4 separate regions of the Homo sapiens genome follow, and regions 1, 3 and 4 are each linked to region 2. The links are contacts of gene promoters, found by promoter capture Hi-C in blood cells and fetal thymus (Javierre and others, 2016). All regions are on one chromosome and are shown on one strand. Each heading gives the region's core, a stretch centred on a gene start or on the middle of the fragment in contact. The rest is flanking DNA. Distances are from core to core; before and after follow the strand shown.

Evidence for each region. Contacts are between HindIII fragments. The CHiCAGO score rates a contact against its expected background, and 5 or more counts as called.
Region 1: a contact is called between a fragment that was not itself captured here and the fragment with the promoter of CTTNBP2 in region 2, in 1 of 17 cell types (megakaryocytes). The highest score is 5.4, in megakaryocytes.
Region 3: a contact is called between a fragment that was not itself captured here and the fragment with the promoter of CTTNBP2 in region 2, in 1 of 17 cell types (megakaryocytes). The highest score is 5.1, in megakaryocytes.
Region 4: a fragment that was not itself captured here is called in contact with the fragment with the promoter of CTTNBP2 in region 2 in 2 of 17 cell types (megakaryocytes and erythroblasts); the score reaches 9.6 in megakaryocytes.

What each region holds. Positions count from the first base shown.
Region 1 is chr7:117,781,288-117,786,618 of GRCh38, forward strand. CTTNBP2 (cortactin binding protein 2) reads right to left here. Exons shown (of 23, transcript NM_033427.3): 5 at 2,964-3,167; 6 at 1,575-1,674. Among named protein-coding and RNA genes, the nearest start is that of CTTNBP2, 89 kb to the right of the region's middle. RefSeq lists silencers at 1,932-2,447, 4,768-5,277. The HindIII fragment of the contact is 8,715 bases long and covers 1-5,331 here.
Region 2 is chr7:117,870,627-117,875,766 of GRCh38, forward strand. It overlaps CTTNBP2 (cortactin binding protein 2), which reads right to left and starts at 2,815. Exons shown (of 23, transcript NM_033427.3): 1 at 2,709-2,815. The coding sequence starts at 2,789. The HindIII fragment of the contact is 3,697 bases long and covers 362-4,058 here.
Region 3 is chr7:117,760,693-117,765,474 of GRCh38, forward strand. It overlaps CTTNBP2 (cortactin binding protein 2), which reads right to left. Exons shown (of 23, transcript NM_033427.3): 10 at 1-18. Among named protein-coding and RNA genes, the nearest start is that of CTTNBP2, 110 kb to the right of the region's middle. The HindIII fragment of the contact is 232 bases long and covers 2,249-2,480 here.
Region 4 is chr7:117,744,127-117,749,527 of GRCh38, forward strand. CTTNBP2 (cortactin binding protein 2) reads right to left here. Exons shown (of 23, transcript NM_033427.3): 13 at 1,887-1,973; 14 at 1,705-1,804. Among named protein-coding and RNA genes, the nearest start is that of CFTR-AS2, 99 kb to the left of the region's middle. The HindIII fragment of the contact is 1,013 bases long and covers 1,928-2,940 here.

The sequences.
Region 1 (5,331 bases), core at 189-2,688, 91 kb before region 2:
AAGAGGGCTAAATCATAATCAAAGTAAGAAGCAATCCACTTCATCTTTTATTTTCACTCCAATGAATGTTTTTCCTAATTTTCCCTTGCAGTATCTGATTTATACATTTTTTTTAAATTAAGTGACATGTTGATATACATGTGTATCAGACACATTTAAATTAACAAATCCAGCCTGGCACGGTGGCTCACACATGTAATCCCAGCACTTTGGGAGGCTGAGGGGGACAGATGACGAAGTCAGGAGATCCAGACCATTCTGGCCAACACGGTGAAACCCGTCTCTACTAAAATACAAAAAATTATCTGGGTGTGGTGGCGTACACCTGTAGTCCCAGCTACTCGGGAGGCCGAGGCAGGGGTATCGCTTAGACCCAGGAGGCGGAGGTTGCAGTGAGCTGAGATTGCACCACTATACTCCAGCCTGGCGACAGAGCAAGACTCCGTCTAAAAGAAAGAAAGAAAAAAATCCATCCCCAGATTTCTCCAGGGTCCTTCCTGTTTGCAAAGTTATCCATGCTTCCATTCCTGTGACTGCTATATGTCCAAGAAAGTGCCCCTACAGGTTGCCTGGTGAAAGTAAAGGTAAAAAGCACAGCTCAGGAGAAATTCCTTTTGAAGGAGTCAGGATATGTCCCAAGAGTAACAGCAAAATCAGTGTCTAGGGTTCTCAATGACAAACTCAGGGTAATGAGGTATGTGGTAGATATGCAGAAAAGTGAATCATGCTCTACATAAATAATTCATTTTGAATTTTAAAAAATTATATTTATGATTAATAACATGGGGTCAACCTTAAAAACCCATATTTCAATAATTCTGGAATTTGTTAAAGAACATTCCTATCGGGACAGTTAGATTAAAAAGTTAAAAGCAACTTGCGTTTCCCACAACCTGCCATTTCAGCACAGGCAGAGAAAGCAACTTAGCTATTTTCTATTTTTTTAAGTTAAAATATGACTTTTAATGTTAAAAAGTCATGCCTATATCTAACTGACTTAGTAAGCTACTAAAGAAATCATTGCTAAAGTTAGGTATATTTTAATTAATAGGGTCTCTTTAGCTTAATGCCCAAACTACTTTCAGTATGTAAAATTCATGCTTCCATTTTGTTTTAAATGGTAAAACAAGATGAATAATTAGAATACATTACCACTAGGAAATTTAGATTATTACAACCAATATAATTCTATGTTCTACTTTTAGTGACATCATAAGTAAAAAATCTTTTAGGGGGTTGGAATGGTGTAAAACAGTGAAAAACAAACTTCTCAACAGTCCTTCATCTCATGACATATGTGTTGATATGCCATAGATGATCTTCCAAAGAAAGTTCATTCACGTTCAGTTGGGACACAGCCCAGTTCTCTTCTTCACTTCCCTCAAACATTAACTATTATTAAGAGCAAATTTAGAATCCTAGTTTGCATTTAAATCCTCAAATATATTTAGTGAATTTATTTGCCAGTGATTTTAAGCACTAGTTTACACATTCAGCCGGAACTAAAATACGTGTGCAAATTATAAAAAGAGGCTCCTTTGATGGTGGGAAAAAAAGAATTAAGAGCAACTTACTCGAAATGTCCCTGAGCAGCTGCAGCACACAAGGGTGTGAAGCCATTTTTATCAGCAGCATTGACTTGGGCTTCTGCACTCAGCAGCAATCTCACACAGTCTATGGATTTTAATAGAAAGCCATGTAAATTCCCCATTTGGAGTTATGATGTGCCAAATTCTATACAAGCTGTAGATAGATTCTAATCCCAAAGGGACTCTCCCCTGCACAGTTCATCTCAGAATTCCATCATGGCAGACCTGAGACTCTGTAGACTATTTTACAGGAAAAGCAGCCAATTTTCCCAAAGATTATAATACCCCAGATTCACTAAGATGCGTGTGTGTGTGTGCATGCGCATGTGCCCATGCGTGTGTGCATTTTGGGAAGAGTTGCTGCTGAGTAAAAAAAAATGTCATGTGCCAGAAAATGCTTTACCAGATCTTTCCAACAGTCTATCCCAGAAAATAATGTTCCTGGATGGAGAATCAAATTCATTTACCAAACGGAAATACCATTCTTTGTACTTAAATAAATTATTACTTTATGATGTTTAATTTAATCTTTAAACTGCTTTTGGATGGTGGGCATCCTACACTTAACTCCATGAATGAGGCTAAAGGACAGCCCATCGAAAGTCACCTAACTCAGGAATAAATATCACCTAGATGTCACATTCCTGATGTTACTTACTAGATTTACTTCTTCTATATTAAAGAAAATCTCCATGGTGATTATGAAGAATTCTAGAATACTTTAAAAATAACGGGATCTCTGAGGTCACTAGAATCCTCCATTTATCTGAATTAATCGACAATCATATGGGCTTCCATATGCAACGCTATCTGACTTTGCATTTGCGGTCAAGTCCTCTCTTTTTCTGCACTCCCATATGTTTTGGTATATTTGACTACAGGATTTGCATTTTAAAGAACAAGAATAATTCCCAGTCTTCATCGATATACCATTTATAGTTACACAACTTCTCGGTTCTTTTAAGACATTCAAATAACTATAAATTGTTCCAACTGTGGAACAATTTCAGGCCCATGACCTTACCTAACTGCTAAAACTTTCCCTCACTGTAGCATGTAGCACTAAAGTTCTGATAATTAGACTTTCTCATATATCAGGTATTTCTAACAGACCATAAATGCAAACTAATCTTTGCATAAAACAAAGATTACTTTTTACTAGCTCTGGTAAAACTTTACATTAATGAACTGTACAATTTGGATTTTTTAAATGTTTATAAAAACTTTAAATCTCATGTTTAAAAAAACTATCCATTACCACCTGTAAAAGAAAAATAAAACTAAATTGAACTTTCTGCTCATTACAATTGATACATGGGCTTTTGACTTTCCATCCTTTTGCAAGTGTGTGGTATAAGATCTCGCCATATTTACCTGTATGTCCATTCTTAGCAGCAGAATACAAGGCAGAATGGCCATCTTCACAGGAGTAATTAATGTCCAGTCCTTCTTCATTAAGCAGCATTGATAATAAAGTGACATTTCCCTGGGCAGCAGCTTGCTGAAGAAGGGTGGGCCTGCCAGCCAGGGGGGCAGGACCACCACTCATTAGCAAAGGGGTTAGGGAGGGTGACCAGCCTGTAGGTTAAAGTGACCCTCGTTAGAGAGTAGGAGCAAGGACAAGAGACAGATATTACCCATTCCTTTCTGAATTACACACACACAAACATATGAACATGTGTCCCTAGAGGATTATGTGGTTTCTAACATTATCAATCTGTTAATATTTACTTAGCATGAATCTGGACTGTTATTTCAGATCTTACATCTGCTGCTAATTAAATCAACATACATGGTAAAAAATTATTTTTAGTCATGAGTCTTGCACAGGTAAGTGTTAAAGTGGTGACTGGTTTTAGGAAAACTTAAGATGGCTGTCTCATTTTAAAAGTTCAAATTTCTCTTCAGGATTTTAAAACAATTTGAATTTTAAAATGTAAAGGTTTTACAAGGTAAAGTTTTCCTCTAATTCAATATTAATCTGGAAAAGTAAACTGATATTTTTAGGTATAAGAGGAATAATTGTAACAGATTTTTCTTTTTCAACAAGGTTTCTAAAATGTTTAATTACAAATTTTATGTAAACCATTAAGATGGACCAAAGAGTCTATTTATATTCCTTGAATTCCCTTATTTGGGAATAGAAATAATGGAGGCCAACTGCTATTCAGTATTAAGAGATAATAAAATATAACATATATAACTGGATCTAGAGTTCACCAGCACAAATATTCAATATACAATTGTGAAGACTGTATCATCTGGCCACCTTTACAAAATGCCTAACAAACTTTTAATCAGCCAACAAAACAGGACACTCAACTATATAATTTTAACAAAAACAATGAGTTATAGTTAGATATTTCTCATCAGTATTTAGCAGCTTTAGAAGAGAGTCTGTTAAGTGTGTGAAATCGGCTGCATATAGCATGAAAAATTTTCTGAATTCTTCCTTGATCAAAAGGCTGTAAAAACAGTAAAGTAAAAAATGTTCATTCAATGTGACATATAGATATTTGTGTATTTTAGACTTAAATACAGTGAATTTTCAAAATAAGACATTTTCCGCTTTTTCCTTATAGGGTTCTAATACCTGTAACATTGTTGTGCATATGTACATATATTCATCCCTAAGGGCACACTTTCACAGACCAATTAAGACTATTTTGTCCTGACCAAAGTGATTACAGATGGAGGGCTTTATTCTAAATAGTGTTTCACAATGACTAGACCCTGAATTTCTATATGCACAATACATCTCATTGTGCATAAAACAAAGATTACTTTTTACTAGCTGCAGTAAAATTTTATGTTAAGGAACTATACCATTTGGATTTTTAAAATGTTTTGTAACTATCCACTACCACCTGTAAAAGAAAATTAAAACCATATTGAACCTTCTGCTCATAACAATGGTCACATGGGCTTTTGACTTTACATCCTTTTGCATGTGTGTGGCATGATGAGATAAGATCTTGCCATATTTACCTGCATGTCCTTTCTTAGCAGTGGAATACAAGGCAGAATGGCCACCTGATTACGATATGTGGTAATATCCCTTTAGTAAGATACAACAGATGGATGTTTTATACTCTCTGTACATTGGTATCAGCATAATTATTCTAAGCATATGAGAGTCATATTAATACATATGTAATACTCAATTCTTATGATTAAATCCTAAATTACTTGCCCTAAATTATCTTAGCATTTTAAAAGTACATATCAAAGGAACTTAGTATTTAAAAAATTCTTTATTAAAAAGGCAAAACAAAGCCAATTATACAAATGAAACTACACTGCTAATAAAAAGCTGGATATTATATCTTTATAATCAATTATTTGGGTCTATGAATAATTTATTGTTTTTAACCCTATTAGGACTACATGTAGTGACATACAAAATTAAAATGCTCATAAAATTCAATATTTATCTAAACTTTATGATATTTTCCTACTGATACTCATTAGCTCTTCTTACAAAAGTAGTATTTTTACTTCATACTTACAAGAAGGCTCCTCTCTGGTACATTTTACCTTTTGTATTTTCTTAAAAACAAACAAACAAACAAAAAACAGGCCCACAAAAATTAAATCAGTACTTATTAGAAATGCATAAACAGAGAAATTATAAACACGAAGGCATAAAACCTCGACTGCAAAGCAAACACAGGCAATATGAAGGCATCGCACTACAGTCCTCTGTGGAACAGGAGGGAATGGGGCTCATACTCAGCCTCTC
Region 2 (5,140 bases), core at 1,565-4,064:
TCCTTTCATTCCAAAATTCTTTGGTGACAATAAAAAGCATGAAGATTTCGTTTTCCATACTGCCTTATCCATTAGGAGTTATTTTCAGAGTGGAAACAGCAATATGGCCTATAAAAGTCATCACATTTGGCTAAGGCACTGAAAATAGCCCAGGTTTCCCGGCACGGTTCACGGCAAAGACTATTAATATGATCCTATTGAATAATGTAGCTGTTACCCAGCCTTAAACTTGGGATGCTTTCAGGATTTAAACAGCTAAGAATGAGGATCACAAACTAAATTTAAAACATTCCACTAAAAATGATATTAAACTGAAAACTATAAATTAAGCTTGTTTCTAAGCAACAATCTAAATAGTCAAAGCTTAGTGAAAACACTCACTTTCAAAAATAGCCTACTGCTTTAGAGCTTCCATTGACTCCTTACTGCCAAATGTATACATAAAAATGCACGATATGTAAACCAATTTGAAAGTCAACAAATCTCCAAAATGCAAAGTGAATTGTTCACTAAAATAAAAAATATCAGTCAACAAGAACCCAAAATGCATAAAACGCCTCTGATTTTTAAGGAGCAATTGTGATGACACATATCACTCCTCTACACTAGCTTTCCTTTCACTTAAAAATCAGTCTATAGGTCAAGCGGCTGATATGAGAGAACCATGCCTTATTAAGTCAAAACTATTTGGAGAACTAAAATAAAAGGCCCAATTTACTACAAAAGCCATCATCAAAATTTTACTAAAAATTCAGAAATTATTACTGGTTTTTAAACTACTAGATGAAGAATCCTTATTGCATCTCGCAACCCTAAAGGATTCTATGGAAATAGCAAAGAAGGTTCACTTTCGCAGATTTTCCATGGCTCTGCCCATTAACAAGGGTGAAATTATCAAATCCCCAACTATCAGCAGTGAAAATCAGACTTGAACATTTTAAACAGAAGAGAGGGAACACTGACCTTGTTAACACAGAAATCTGCCTGGCGTCCTGGGTTTTGTTTACGATCTAACCAAACAAAACTATATATCAGCTCTACAGACCATCAGTCAGATGTTTGTGTTTGGGTTAATTGTCAGGTGATTAAAATATTGAGGGTAACAGAAACCCATTCTGAGTGGATTAAGTAAACAAATTCAACCTTTCTGGGGAACAAGAAACACACCACACACACACACACACACACACACCCTCTTTCTTTTTCGTCCTTCCCCTTCACACACACACACACACACACACACACACACCCTCTTTCTTTTTCCTCGTCCTTCCCCTTCCCACCTTTTGGGGATGAAGGCACCAAATCATTTCCACTTGCCAGAGAGCCTTGTCTCAATAGCTAGTTTCCTTACTGTGCCCCACAGAGGGGAGCTGATTCACATAAGTGGGCAGGTTTCGTTTGAAATCTTAAAGTTCTCATTTTCTATGCAAAGAATGGAAACTCAATTTTCCCAAAAGTTCAAATCAAAACTTGCCAGTTTTACAAGTGGAAATTAGCAGTCCTCCTCCCCGTTTCTCCTTCCATTGCCAGGCTCAGCTCCTCTCACCCCAAGTACCTTCCTCCACATCTCTCCTCTCCCTCTCCAGAAAGCCCTACCTCCAGAGGGTGGGAGGAAGTTAAAGCGGCCCCCGCTGTTTACGCCCGGCCCTGCCCTCTCCTGCACTGATTCTGCTCAGGTCTTGATAGGAAGAGGGGGGCGTCCACGCCCCGCTCGCTCCATCCCACCCCATCCTTCGGCGGGAGCAGCCAGATCTGGCCAAGAGTGGGAGGCGCTCCCAGATCTGCCTTTCTCTGCAGCTCCTTGCAGCTCCTGCGAAGCTGCTTCCCAAACACCGAGAACCTTTTCCACCCAGGAAATGTGGGTCCAGCCCTTCCCCAAAGTAGAGGCTGGAAACCACCAGCGAGTCTCTACACCGGAATATTAAGGGGGTGAAAGTAAGGACCAGTCAAGAATGGTAGCGCATTCGGCCTCTAGACTCCAGAGAAGGAGAACAATGTCTTGAAACCAGGTGCAGAACCTCCACCTCTCCTGAGCATCGTCTCGGGAAGAACCAATCCATCCACCCCACCCCAATCACTACCACCAAGTAATGGGGCAGCAGGCTGCTAGGACCTAAAGCGCTGGCCTCAGCGGCAGCAGCGCCCACATCTGGACACGGCCCTCTCCCAGTGGGCCTCCCGAAGGCACAGGACCAGATGCACACAATGGGCATCCCCACACCTGCTGGGCGATGGCCCACCTCCCCCAAGCTGCTCTCCCGGGTCCGCTGAGCGGTACCAGGCACCCCCGAGACACGCGCTGGCAACCACGCGCGCAGCGAGAGGTGAACAATGGGGGGTCAAATTCGCCAGGAAACACGTCCCAGCCTTCTCCCCCGGCCAGAAGCGACCGCAGCGGAGGGAGTGGGCATAGGGGTCGCACTGGACGCAGACAGGGAGCTGGGAGAACCGGGCGACCCGGGGCCGCTTCCCGTGGGGCGCGGAAGGGACAGGAGGGATCCCCAGCCAGGGTGGCCGCTCCGCTCCCCCCCGCGGCCTCCGCCGTGTGGGCATCCCGAGGAAGGGGGGCCCCGATGAAGGGGCACCGGAGAGTCCCGGGCTTACGGAACGCCCCGGGGGTGCGAAGTCGGGTCCGGCTGGGACCCCGGCGCCGCCCCCGGCCCGCGTCTACACTAGCCCCGCGCCCGCCCCGGGAACTCGGTTACCGCCGCCTCCGCCGCGGCCCCCGCCGCGTCCTCCGGGGCCCGGGACAAGTCGGGCTCGCAGCTCGCGCCGTCCGTCGCCATCTTCCTGCTCTAGCGGATCCGAATGCGAGCTCGGAGCCGCGGCTCCGGACTCAGCCGTCTCCGCGCGGGCGGCACTTAACCCGCTGCTGTCCGGGACGCGGGCGCCTGGAGCCGGGAGCCGGGAGCCGCGGCACTCCCTCCGCCCCTCGCCACCGCCCTCGCCGCTTAACCCGCTGCGCGCCGGAGCGCCCCGCCTCGGTCCCGCCCCGCGCCCCGCGTCCCGCGCCCGGTGGCGCCAGCCGCGGGCTCGTGGAGGTGCGAGAAATGGGCGCACGACCTGGCTCCGCTGCGGCCCTGCGCGGGGACTGGGGATCAAAGACCACGGAAGAGGTGAAGGCAGAAAGCGCCCGAGGAGCGTTGCATTCCGCAGAACCCCAACCAAGCCGGAGAAATCCGTGCACAGACCAGATTAAATGTCAGGCCTCCTGAATCTGAATTCTCTGAAAGATCAGGGAAAATCCTACACTTCAGCTCCCTCTATCCCACCGCGAGGAATCACACAGGGCACCCCTTTCTTCTTAAATTGCTCTTTCTTAAATTTCATTGCCGCCAGGGTGTTTTTATCCTCCCTATATATATACACACCTGGCTCTGATTTATTCTATCGTTGACTCTAGTGTTTCTCCAAAAACAATTCTCAGATGAAAACGATTTGTCTGTCCTGTTTTCTTTTAGAACGTGGCACCAGCCCCTCAGCTCCTAACTTTCTATACAATCTCCTTTTCAGGGAATGTGTAGCGGGCTGTTTTATATTCTGTGACCCCCCTAAGTCTGAGATCTCTCCTGAAGGACTAACTGAGAAGTGTTAAATGTCATAGCTTTAAAAGCTAAATGTCATGTCCTCTACTTTTGAGAGAATTTAAAAAAATTACTCCCTACGTGTGAGGACACGTGTACATATACACCAAAAACAATCAAACAAAAGCCGTATTTGTAAAAATAGATTTTATGGGAATTACACGTCTCAGAAGATTTTTCATGAGATGAGTGAATTAGGCCCAAACGCTTAATCTTCCCTTTCCACATCTAATTCAGTTCCTACCCTTTGCTGCCAATTTCCAGAATGTGAAAATCTATCACCTCACCAAGACCATATGGTACAGCCCTTCCCAAATCACCAGATCCCTAAAAATGTGTCGAATGCATAAAATCAAATTGAGACATTCAAGCTGTGTCTCAAAGACGTAAAATCAAACCACAACCAAATCTTGCACTTGAAATTTTGGAAGATGAATGACTAGAATGTTCAGTCCAAGGGTTACAGATCAAAGCTTTTTTTTTTTTTTTCCTTTTTTCTTTCTTTCTTTCTTTCTTCTTTTTTTAATGGCAGGCTCCTAATGAAAGGTTTTGACTCTTTAATTGCTCCACTTTCCAAATTAGACCCAAATATGACACAAACCAGGGCAGAGAAAATCTTTTCTGCAAAGACCCTGAAAGGGATTGATTAATAAACTGTGAAAAGTTCCCTCCCAGAAGAGAGGTCAAGAAAGAACTTTACCTAGAACTCTGGGGCTAAAAGTCAGAGGCTTAGAAATCATCTCCAGGTTATCCTGTGAGTACAGGTACTTATTTATTTATTTATTTATTTATTTATATTGGCTCTGATAGTTACTCCCTCACTTATCCCTTTAATATCCATCCCTGTTCATTATACCACTTTCCTTTATTAAGTATACTCTCTAAAACTGCTCAATATTAGAATAACTAGATTTCTTTAAGATTAAAGAAAACCACTGGACAGTAAAAGTTAGATGTCAAACTGATAGTAAAAATTTAAAGTCCAAGGGCATTCCTTGTTCTTTTCAAAATGCACTTCCACACATTGCAAGGCAATCAATTTTCTTGATTCTGATGTTGAATACTTCTCAAGCAATTAACTGGCAAACTTCTGGAAAAAATAATAATAATAAGTTTTACTCAGGGTTAAGAGTTAGAAATATGAAATGACACCATCTCTGGGAAGCAAATCCCTTTTATACATGCAGCCCAATTTTTAAAAAAAAATCACTGGGAAAAAATTAGCTTGTATTCACCTAAATACAATTAAAGCAGGATCATGTTACAAGGAAATCAGTCCTTGCCCACCCCCCCCCCCCACCGCAAACCCCCACCCATCATTTTTTGTTTGTTTTTGTGAAATGGAAAAAAAATAAATAAAACAGTGATAAAAATCACAGGACACCACATTCTCTAACCACCAAAATCCAGTACCTGGGAAGGAGAATTGACAGCATTCTGTTTCCACCTTAAAACCAGCACTGTTGAAGGTTGGCTGAGGATCTCACCTACTGCACAGAAGTGGCACACTAGGAGTTAACTTCCTCACTAGTAGCCTGGCCTGGGGCTGCTTC
Region 3 (4,782 bases), core at 1,115-3,614, 110 kb before region 2:
AGGGTATTTTAAGAGCATCTGTTAGAAGAGTAAAAGAATTAGGAGTTAAAAAAATCTGGACAGAAAAAAAAAGTAAAACTATTACATAAAATAAGCAGATATAAACATTTAAAAATTATAAACCAAAGCTATTTTATTTCATTAAATAACATTACATTGAACGTTCTTACACTGGAGTAAACTTTTGTCTCCCAATCTCTTCAGTTTCTTTGGAAGCACGCTGCACGAACTGTCTCTTTCCTTGTATCTTTGGCTTTTTCTATTTCATTAACTCTTTCCCATCAGCAAGATTGTCAAGTTTTAAAAAAAAAAATCTGAAAGAACTATAACCCTCCCTTGACCCTGAATTCTCTATATTCTCCTTTCCTTCATAGATAATGTCATGGATGAGGCAGGTTATAGTTGGACAGGTCGGGATGCTTAGGATAGTAACTGAGAATCATATAGACCTTGGGTTGAACCGCAGAGTCAGGGTCAGCCTCCTATAGATGCGTGTTCTTGTAAATTGATCTCTCTGTACCCCAATTTCTTCCATAAAATGGAGGGAATGTATATCGAGTTGGTGTGAAAAATAAATGAACTTACTTTTGTAATAGATTTTACATATTCTTATGTGGTAAATACCAGTAAGTATTTGATAAATGGTTAACAGGGTAGCAGGATTTAACTTTTGAAATGTTCTTTCCAATTTCTCCGACTGAGGCTCCAGCAGAGTGGGTAGCACCCCCATCTACTTCTGTTCTCATGACTGAATTGTATGCTGAGTTACTTGTGTTTGTTTCCAAATATTCTATGTTCATTGAACTGATGACTATAATTATTGAATTAAGTATTCCATAAATTGATGAAATATGAGTTACTGTTCCTATGAAAACTAAGTTGAATCCTTTAGAGACAGTTTAGGAACTGTTAAAAAATTTTATCTAATGAGGTATAAATGGGACAACTATATGAAATTAGAAATGGTTTAATAATCTCTGGACAGGTATTACCTTTAGTTTGCTTCATAAATGTGTTTAAGCAGTCAAACATTAGAAATCATAGATGATGCATCAAAGGTATGTTTTTTTCAAACAAGAGTATGTGAAATTTTAATCAGTAGAACCTGTACTAAAGACCTCTATCTAAACTTTGGTAAAAAATTCCTTTGTATGCTTTAAAATTAAAATGTTTTAAAACAACATGTGTTTGTTTATATGATCCTCTTCTTAAACTTAGATTTTTCCATTAAGTAACCAACTGCTGGATTACTTATTTTCCATTTTCTGACTCTCAGTCATCTTACTTATCCACAGTATCTGACAAAAGTGATCTCTCTTTGCTCCTTGATATACTCCTCCTGGATCTCCTGTACCTCCTCGGTCGCTCTTTAATGTTGTTCCTTTGTTGTTCTCTCCACCTTTTCCAGACTTCTTAATGATAGTGTGTTTTGGGGCTCCTTTCTCTATTTATTTTGTGCATGTTCATTCCCTTAGTGATCTCATCCAGTCCCATGACTTTAAATATCACTGATAGACTGCTGACCTTCACATTTATTCACCCAGCTCTCACTCGTCTCAGGAATTCCTGCTGACTTGACATCTCCACACAGATATCCTAAGAGACATCTCAAATTCCTGCATCCAAATCTGAACTCCCCAACTACATGAGAAAATCTGTTTCACTCATGGCCTTTCCCCCTAACAAGTACTGGCAACTCCATCGTGCCAGTTGGTCAGACTGAACACCTTGAATTATCAGACTGAACACCTTGAATTATACTCCCTCACACTTCACATTCAATCCATGAGGAAGTTCTGTTGACTCTACCTTCAACTGTATCCAGAACCCAAGTCCTTCTCATTACCTCATCTGCTGCATTCCTACACTGAGCCACCATAATTGTCTCTCACCTGGAATACCATATGCATGTACTAACAGCTGTTCCTGATTTATCTGTGACTTCCTATAGCTGATTCTCAACAAAGCAGCCAGTGCTACTGTTAAAATGTGCATCAGATCCCATCTCTCCTACAATCGAACACTGCAATGGCTACCTTAAGTTCTTACAATGGCCTACGCATTCCAACAAGATCAGGCCACGCTCCACCCTGTAACTGCTCTCCTGCACTCAAACACTGAAATGGCTACTGCTCTGACCCGTCTTCCTGCTTCTCTTTCCTTTTAACCCAGTCATCCTGCCCTCCTTGCAGTTCCTCAGACACAACAGGAATGCTGCTACCTCAGGCCTCTGTCCAACTCGTGCTAAAGCTTCTTGAACCTTAGATATCCACATAGCTGCCCTGTTCACCTCCTTCAAGCCTTGGCTTCAATGTCTCATCAGTGAGGCAAACTTGGCCACCATTTTAAAAGCTGAAACACACCCTTTAAATCCTCATCCCCCTTAGTCTTTTCCATAGCATATCTCACCACCTCACAATGCCAAAAAATAAATTTTTCTTATATTTATTGTTCATTTTATCTCTTAATGTTAGACTATAAGCTTCAGGATGAGAACAATCTTCTTAAAAATTTTCTGACTTACATCAAGTGGCTAAGATAGTGACTGGCACAAGAGCAGCTCAATAAGCATATGTTCAATGAATTAATAAAAAGGTGTTTATTCAATGGATGAAGAAAACTATTCTACCAGAGATTTTTTCCACTGTCTTTCCATATTATTCTCAGCTTAAAATAATCAGCTTCTATGTAACTGCACAAAACTTGTCTCCCTGTTAGCGGTAACTTCTATTTGCCAAATGCAATCGACTCTTTTTAATCCTTATAGTCTAGGGAATGTGATACTATTAAATTAATTCTTCCTGTTGGAAAGGTCTCCTAACTTGAATCCAATTACACCATTGTTTTCTTTTTCTTCTTCTTCTTTTTTTTTTTTTTTTTTTTTTTGAGACAGGGTCTTTCTCTGTCACCCAGGCTGGAGGGCAGTGGTGCCACCTTGACTCACTGCAGCCTTGACCTCCCTGGCTCAGGTAATCCTCTCACCTCAGCACCCATGGAGCAGACAACAGTTGGGACTACAGGCACGTGTCACCATGCCTGGCAATTTATTTTTATTTTTTGAAGAGATGGAGTTTTGCCATGTTGCCCAGACTGGTCTTGAACTCCTGGGCTCAAGCAATCCTCCTGCCTCAGCCTCCTCAAATGCTGGGATTACAGGCATGAGCCACTATGCCTGACCATACAACATTATTTTTTGGCTCTTTTCCTTCCTATTTCCCAATCTTCTTTTAGGGTCATTTTTAAAAAATATTTTCTGCCCTAAAAATGGGGGTTTCTCTGGGCTTGGCCTTCAGTTTGCTTTTCCCCTCACCCTGTATATCATTCCTGTCTCATAGCACCCCTATGACTTGAACCATGACCCTGTTCTCCAGCCCTGTGACTCCCTGGCTTGTTCAGCCCTCCTTCCCTCTTACTAGGTACCAGTCATGCTCCCCATCTATGGTATCCTGTGTATCAAGATCAAGACAATTATTTCCCCATTACCTACATCTTACTTCCTCACTTACAATCGTTCAATTGTTCATTCATGTCCACAGGATTGCATCAAAACTTACATGGAAGATTGAGTCAAAAGGAATACAAGGCCTTTTATGACCTGACTCTAGACTTCCCATACTCATCTCCCTCCTCTCCCCAGCACTGCAGATACAGCTAAATACCTCTAAAGACTCCAAAGCACATCCCCTTCAGTGCCTCCAGATATGCTGCTAGTTCACCTGGAATGGCTCTATTTTCCACTCTTTCTTGGCTCAGCCTTTCAATTTTCACTTAAATCTTCCATAGGGAAGCTCTTACCTCCCCTATGCATATTTTTACACTTTGCCTTATTTAGTGGTACTTATAACAAATATAGGCTTGGAGTTGTATTTTTAAACTTTTACACAGATGGTTTTATATTATGTGTCCTTCTATAACTGACTTCTTCACTCAACACTTTTTTAATGTATTTCAGGTGATTTATATAGATAAAATTTATTTTTAAGTGCTACTTGGTACCTTTAAAATATGAATTTTCTACAGTTTATTCTATTTATCCATTTCCTAATAGATTTCCATTTAGAGTGCTTTCAGTTTTCTAGTATTACACACAATGCTGCAACACACATTTTCATATGTCTCCTGATACACACATGCAAGAGTACTTCTAGCTATGTGCTTAGGCGAGGAGTAGTTTGTTGAATAAATGAAAATAATTGTGCATCTTTGTTCTTCTTTGACATATTCTGTTCTTCAGGTTTTTTTTGTTTTGTTTTGTTTTTTTGAGATAGAGTCTCACTCTGTCACCCAGGCTGGAGTGCAGTGGCGCCATCTTGGCTCACTGCAACCTCTGCCTCCCGGGTTCAAACGATTCTCCTGCCTCAGCCTCCTGAGCAGCTGGAATTACAGGCATATGCCACCACGCCCAGATAATTTTGTATTCTTTAGTAGAGACGGGGTTTCTCTATGTTGGTCAGGCTGGTCTCGAACTCCCGACCTCAGGTGATCTGCCCACCTCAGCCTCCCAAAGTGCTGGGATTACAGACGTGAGCCACCACACCTGGCCCCACTTACTTTCTATAGTTCATTTGCATTCGCAGCTTTTATCATAAGCCTTATGGAAGTAATCATAATCTAAATGCATATCCTGTCTTTTTTACTTCTCTCAGATTGTCAGAATTGGAATCTTAGAAAGACCTTAAGAAATGATCCACTCTTTTGCACTCAGGTATACGAATAATTACTAACCCTATTAACAGGTGAGCAGACTGAGGTGAGAGAAGGCTAAGCACCTTGTCTAACATT
Region 4 (5,401 bases), core at 1,184-3,683, 130 kb before region 2:
ATATTTATCCCCTCAAGCATTTATCCTTTGTGTTACAAACAATCCAATTACCTCCTTCTAGTTATTTTACAATGTACAATTAAGTTATTACTGACTATAGGTACAATTATTACTGACTATAGTCACTATCAAACAGTAGGTCTCATTCATTCTTTCTATTTTTTCAGAACCCATTAACCACCCCCACCTACTCCCCAACACCCAACACTACCCTTCTCTGCCTCTGGTAACCATCCTTCTACTCTCTATCTCCATGAATTCAATTGCTTTGATTTTTAGATCCCTCAAACAATTAAGAACCTGTGATGTTTGTCTTTCTGTGCCTGGCTTATTTCATGCAACATAATGATCTCTAGTTCCATCCGTGTTGTTGCAAATGACAGGATCTCATTCTTTTTTTTATGGTCGAATAGCGCTCCATCGTGTATATGTACCATATTTTCTTTATCTATTCATCTGTTGACTTAGAAAGTGCTGGCTAGGCACGGTGGCTCACGCTTGTAATCCCAGCACTTTGGGAGACCCAAGGCAGGCAGATTGTTTGAGCTCAGGAGTTCAAGACCAGCCTGAGCAACATGGCAAACTCTTTGTCTACAAAAAATACACACACACACACACAAATTAGCTGGAAGTGCTGGGGCGTGCCTGTAGTCCTACCTACTCAGGAGGCTGAGGTGGAAGGTTAGCTTGTGCCCCAGAAATCGAGGCTGCAGTGAGCTGAGATCATGCCACTGTTCTATCTTCCTAAGCCTGGTCTACATTTGCCCTGGCCACAAGATATAGAAGCACCCCTCCCCAACAAAGAGATTTTGAATTTGCATTTCAACCTATCCTTCTCCAATCTTACAACTGCTTCCTTCGCCCCTTCCCCAGGGGTCTCTGTGGCTTTCAGCCCTAGGAGACTAAAGTCTGGTCCATTTCAGTTTTGTGTCAGAGTCACTAGTTATGCTATTCTACAGTATGCAATGCAGGGTTATGCTAATTCCACCTGTGATGAAACGTGGGGTATTAGACCCTGGAATCTAAGATCGAAAACTCATTAATAACATTACATTAATAAACATATTTAATCCCGGTGCTGCTACTACCATAGCTGTGGCAAATTACTGGACCTCTCTGTGACCCTTTCCCCACCTTTGAAAGTAGAAATAATGATACCTACACTTGCATAGGGCTGTTGTGGAGACTGAATGAGTTAATTAGTGCATGTGATGTATTTCACTAAGTGCCAGTCAATGGCATAGCAAGAGTGAGGTAGAGAAAGTGGTTGGCCCCAGGTGCAGCACTAAGGGATGTATTGGTTGTAGAGAATTTATGAGTAATAAAATTTACTAAAAAGTTGATCTGCTGTGTATCACCACCATGCTCCAGCAGTTCTAAACAGCATCAAAGATGCAATACCTAGTCCAGCTAGGGTGAACTGCTCCTACCACCTCCTCCCTTGGTATACCACTAGTGCCAGTAAGACAGTATGCTAGCAACAATTAATGATTAATAACAAAAAGAAGAAAAAAATGCAGGATGCTCAACAAATGCAATAATATACACATGAAGATAATTTTTGCAAGTGTTTATCCCACAGCTGCTGAATAATTAAAGTTATCTTAAATGTATCCCCAAGCAACACAGTGTATTTTCTCTTAATGGCATAATTGAAGAGCATGCCTTTAGGTTATCACAGGCAATTTGCTGAAATGTTCTTACCGCTACTAATGAACAGGTCTAGTAGCTGTTCCTTGGAAAAACCAGCATCTACTTCAGCTCTCACTATTTCACAGGAGAATCCTGCAGCCATTTGTCTGTGCTGTGATAAGAAAATAGGGTGATTAGTTCTACGCACTTGCCAATTTTCAAAGAAAAGCAGCTGATATACAAGTAATCAATACCTTCAGGCAGAGTGCAAGCTGATGTACTATGTAGTCTTGCAAGCTTCCTTCTGGGCCGTGGAAAATGACATTATGATATTGCTCAACCTATTAACAAACCAAGTAGAGAGCTAGGGTGAAGATGCTAAATTGATGAGAGAAAAAAGTGGTACACAGGTGTGGAATTCTTTTTTGATTGTCCTCATACTTTCAAAAGATTAAAAACAATATTTTAGAGATTAGCTTTATCATTGGACACCTGTACTCTCATTTGAATGTGAAACATGGGCAAAGGGTACTTAGCAAGAGCTGATACTTTATAAAAAAACACATTTTTTCCCTCTATTTTCCATAGCGAGGGTCTGCAGGGTAGCTGAGACACACAGTTCCAAGTTCATTTTGTCCCTTCCAGAAATTCTGTAACTTTTTCTATATTATCCTTTGCAGATGCTCTTTATGTGGAATTTTGTCAATGCTTATTTAGCTTGTTCGTGGTTAAAACAGTAATGCATTTCATTATGGAAATTTTGGTATATATAAAGAAGAATAAAAAATTACTGAGTGTCAGCACCCACAGTCACCGTAAATATTTTTGTTTCCTTCCAGTTTTTTCTTTGCATAGTGGCTGCGTGTGTGTGTGTATGTTTAAAAGATGGGTACATGAGTGTCATCTTTTTACAGCTGTTGTATATCAGATAATGTCTTTGTGTTGACTTCTTAGGTAAAAGATGTTTTGATGAGTATAAAACTCAGATCAACTTTATATATTATTCCATTCTGGAATTCAGTGTTTTAAAGAAATCTAGGTAGAGATGGATTACTTTCGCTTTGTCAAAAAGAAAATCTCCTGCCTGTATGCTTATATATATTTTTTAAACTTTATCCTCGTGTATAAGGATACCTCGCCTGAGAACATGGAGTTTCAGCATGCACTTGGATGGAAAGGCAATTATCATCTACACAGGGCAAAGGCAGCGATGTCTTGAGAAAAATATGGAGAGGAAAGTTAGCCTCCCACTTCTGTCATCCCAGGGCTGACACCCCTGCACCCTGCCCAGCACACATGCTTGGGAGAAGCTTTCTTAATGGAAAGCTGGTCTTGCAGCAAGGTCTTGCCGGAAAGGACTTGGACAGGTGAGGGTCCAACCTAACTGATACAGTTGATATTGCTCAAGTGAAGATTGAGCCACCCAGACTTAGAGAAGTTTTGAGTTTGTTCTCTCTATAATCTAGAACAGGACAATGTAAGAATGTGTGTGTGTATCTCTGTGTTGTCTCTCTCTTGTACTCTGATGAGGTTGTCCCTTTGAGATCACAGGAAAAGGCCCATCCTTTATGGTAGCTGGGATGGACTTCTGTGAAGATAGTAAAAATGCCCCAGTCCATCATTACAAGGAGGCAGATTGTGGGATATAAAAGGAAGGCTTGAAGAAAAGCTCTTAGCATAAGAGATGAACTAAACTTTTTCCTTACCCTAGGCCTTTAAGACTTGAGCTTTGGGCCGCACGTGGTGGCTCACGCCTTTAATCCCAGCACTTTGGGAGGCCAAGGTGGGCGGATCACTTGAGGTCAGGCGTTCAAGACTAGACTGGCAAATACGGTGAAACCCCATCTCCACTAAAAATACAAAAATTAGCCAGGTGTGGTGGTGGGTGCCTGTAATACCAGTTACTTGGGAGGTTGAGGCAGGAGAATCGCTTGAACCCGGGAGGTGGAGGTTGCAGTGAGCCAAGATCATGCCACTGCACCCCATCCTGGGCAACAGAGCGAAACCCTGTCTCAAGGTTAAAAAGAAAAAAGACATGAGGTTTGGCCTCTAAGGAGACTAAGGAAGGTTGGTGAGCACTTCTGGGAAGTGGAGGAAAGCCAGGCATGACCACCAGGATTCAGACCATGAGCTAAGAGGGCAGTGGTCCTTTAAGGGGCTCCTTGATGTTGGGCTTGGGACTGGGTTTTAGGCTCTGAAAGATATCATGTCTGGTAGCCTCCCGTAATATTCTCTGAGTTGGAATACTGTTCAATTATTAGTACACCTTCAATAAAAGGCTTACGGTGGAGGTGCAGGCAAGGACCAAACCTGGAGCAAGAACTTCCCCAGAGACACAGGAAAGACTACCCTAGAAAGTGCTGCTGAGGTTCTGCCTCTAAGCAGTAAGGCAATGGGGCCACAAGTCTGCAGGGATACATTATTATTAAATAATAATTATTGAAAAGTAATACGTTTTCATTTATACTTATGAGATGGGGAAGCCTGGGTGACGTACAGATTGTACTTTTCATTAAAAAATGCTGCCCAGATATGTCTAGTTATAGCCTCTTTCTCCTAATCTTAAATGGAACATGGTAAGTCCTTTTGATATGCATAGTCATAATTTTTTTGGATTAGGACATTTTTCTCCAATTTTTTGGTAATTTCTCCTCTTCTAGTTCTCTTTAACTATAATGAACACCTATAATGCTTAAGTTCTCTTTTTTCTGCGAGTATCTGTCATCTTATCTCATCATTATAGCTCTGTCTTCTTTTGCATTGAGAGAGCTCAAGTTAGTCTTGCACAACACGCAAAATATTCACGATCTCACTTCTGTTCTCTATAGTCAAGTGCAACTTTATGCCATTGCATTTTCAATTGTTCTTATAGTTCCTTACCTCATCCATCTCCTTTCTAACACTTTTCCTTGTAATCTAAGCCCAGACTCTACTATGACTTTCTTGCCCTGCTTTCATAGTCTACCACCTTGCATCCTGTAGACAACATAATTTTCCAAACTTTTTCTGTTTTTCCTAGTTGCTGTGGTCAAAATGTTTGTGTTGCTTCCCCTGGCTCCAATTCATATGTTGAAATTCTAACCCCCAAGGTGATTGTATTAGAAGTTGGGGTTGTTAGGAGGGATTAGTGCCCTTACAAATGAGGCTAAGGGGAACCCCTTGCCCCTTCCACCACTTGAGGATTGAATGAAAAGGTGCCATCTATGAACTAGGAAACAGGCCCTAACCAGACACTGAATCTGCTGGCCCCCTGATCTTGAACTTTCCACACCCTGGAACTGTGAGAAATACATTTCTGTTGTTTGTAAGCCACCCAGTCTACGATATTTTGTTTCAGCAGCCTGAATGGACTAAGACACTAGCAAATAATTTAAGGGTGTGTTCTTCCCTGAGTTTTCAGACTGAAAACTGTTCTGCAGTATTCTTCCAGAGGTATATGGTTAATTTGTTATTATTCGTTTATGTACTATGAAACCAGAGGAAGAATTTTGCAGGAAACCAGGATGTGTGGACCACCACTGGCTTCACTGGCTGTCCACAAATTGGGTGGCTGAATCTCCTTCTTGGGTCAGTGGGTGGATGAAAACTTGGTGTCTGCAGTTGCTGATTAAACTCCTGGGTCTAGCAATGGCTGCAATGGAATGAACTCCTACTGTCCAACACAGCAGACAATGTATGAAGATAAACCACAGTCCCAGGAAGCACCACAGCCCAGCAGCTCCTGTCTCCATCCCTGCTGAGTGCTTAAAGAGAATCCACCACCTGGGAT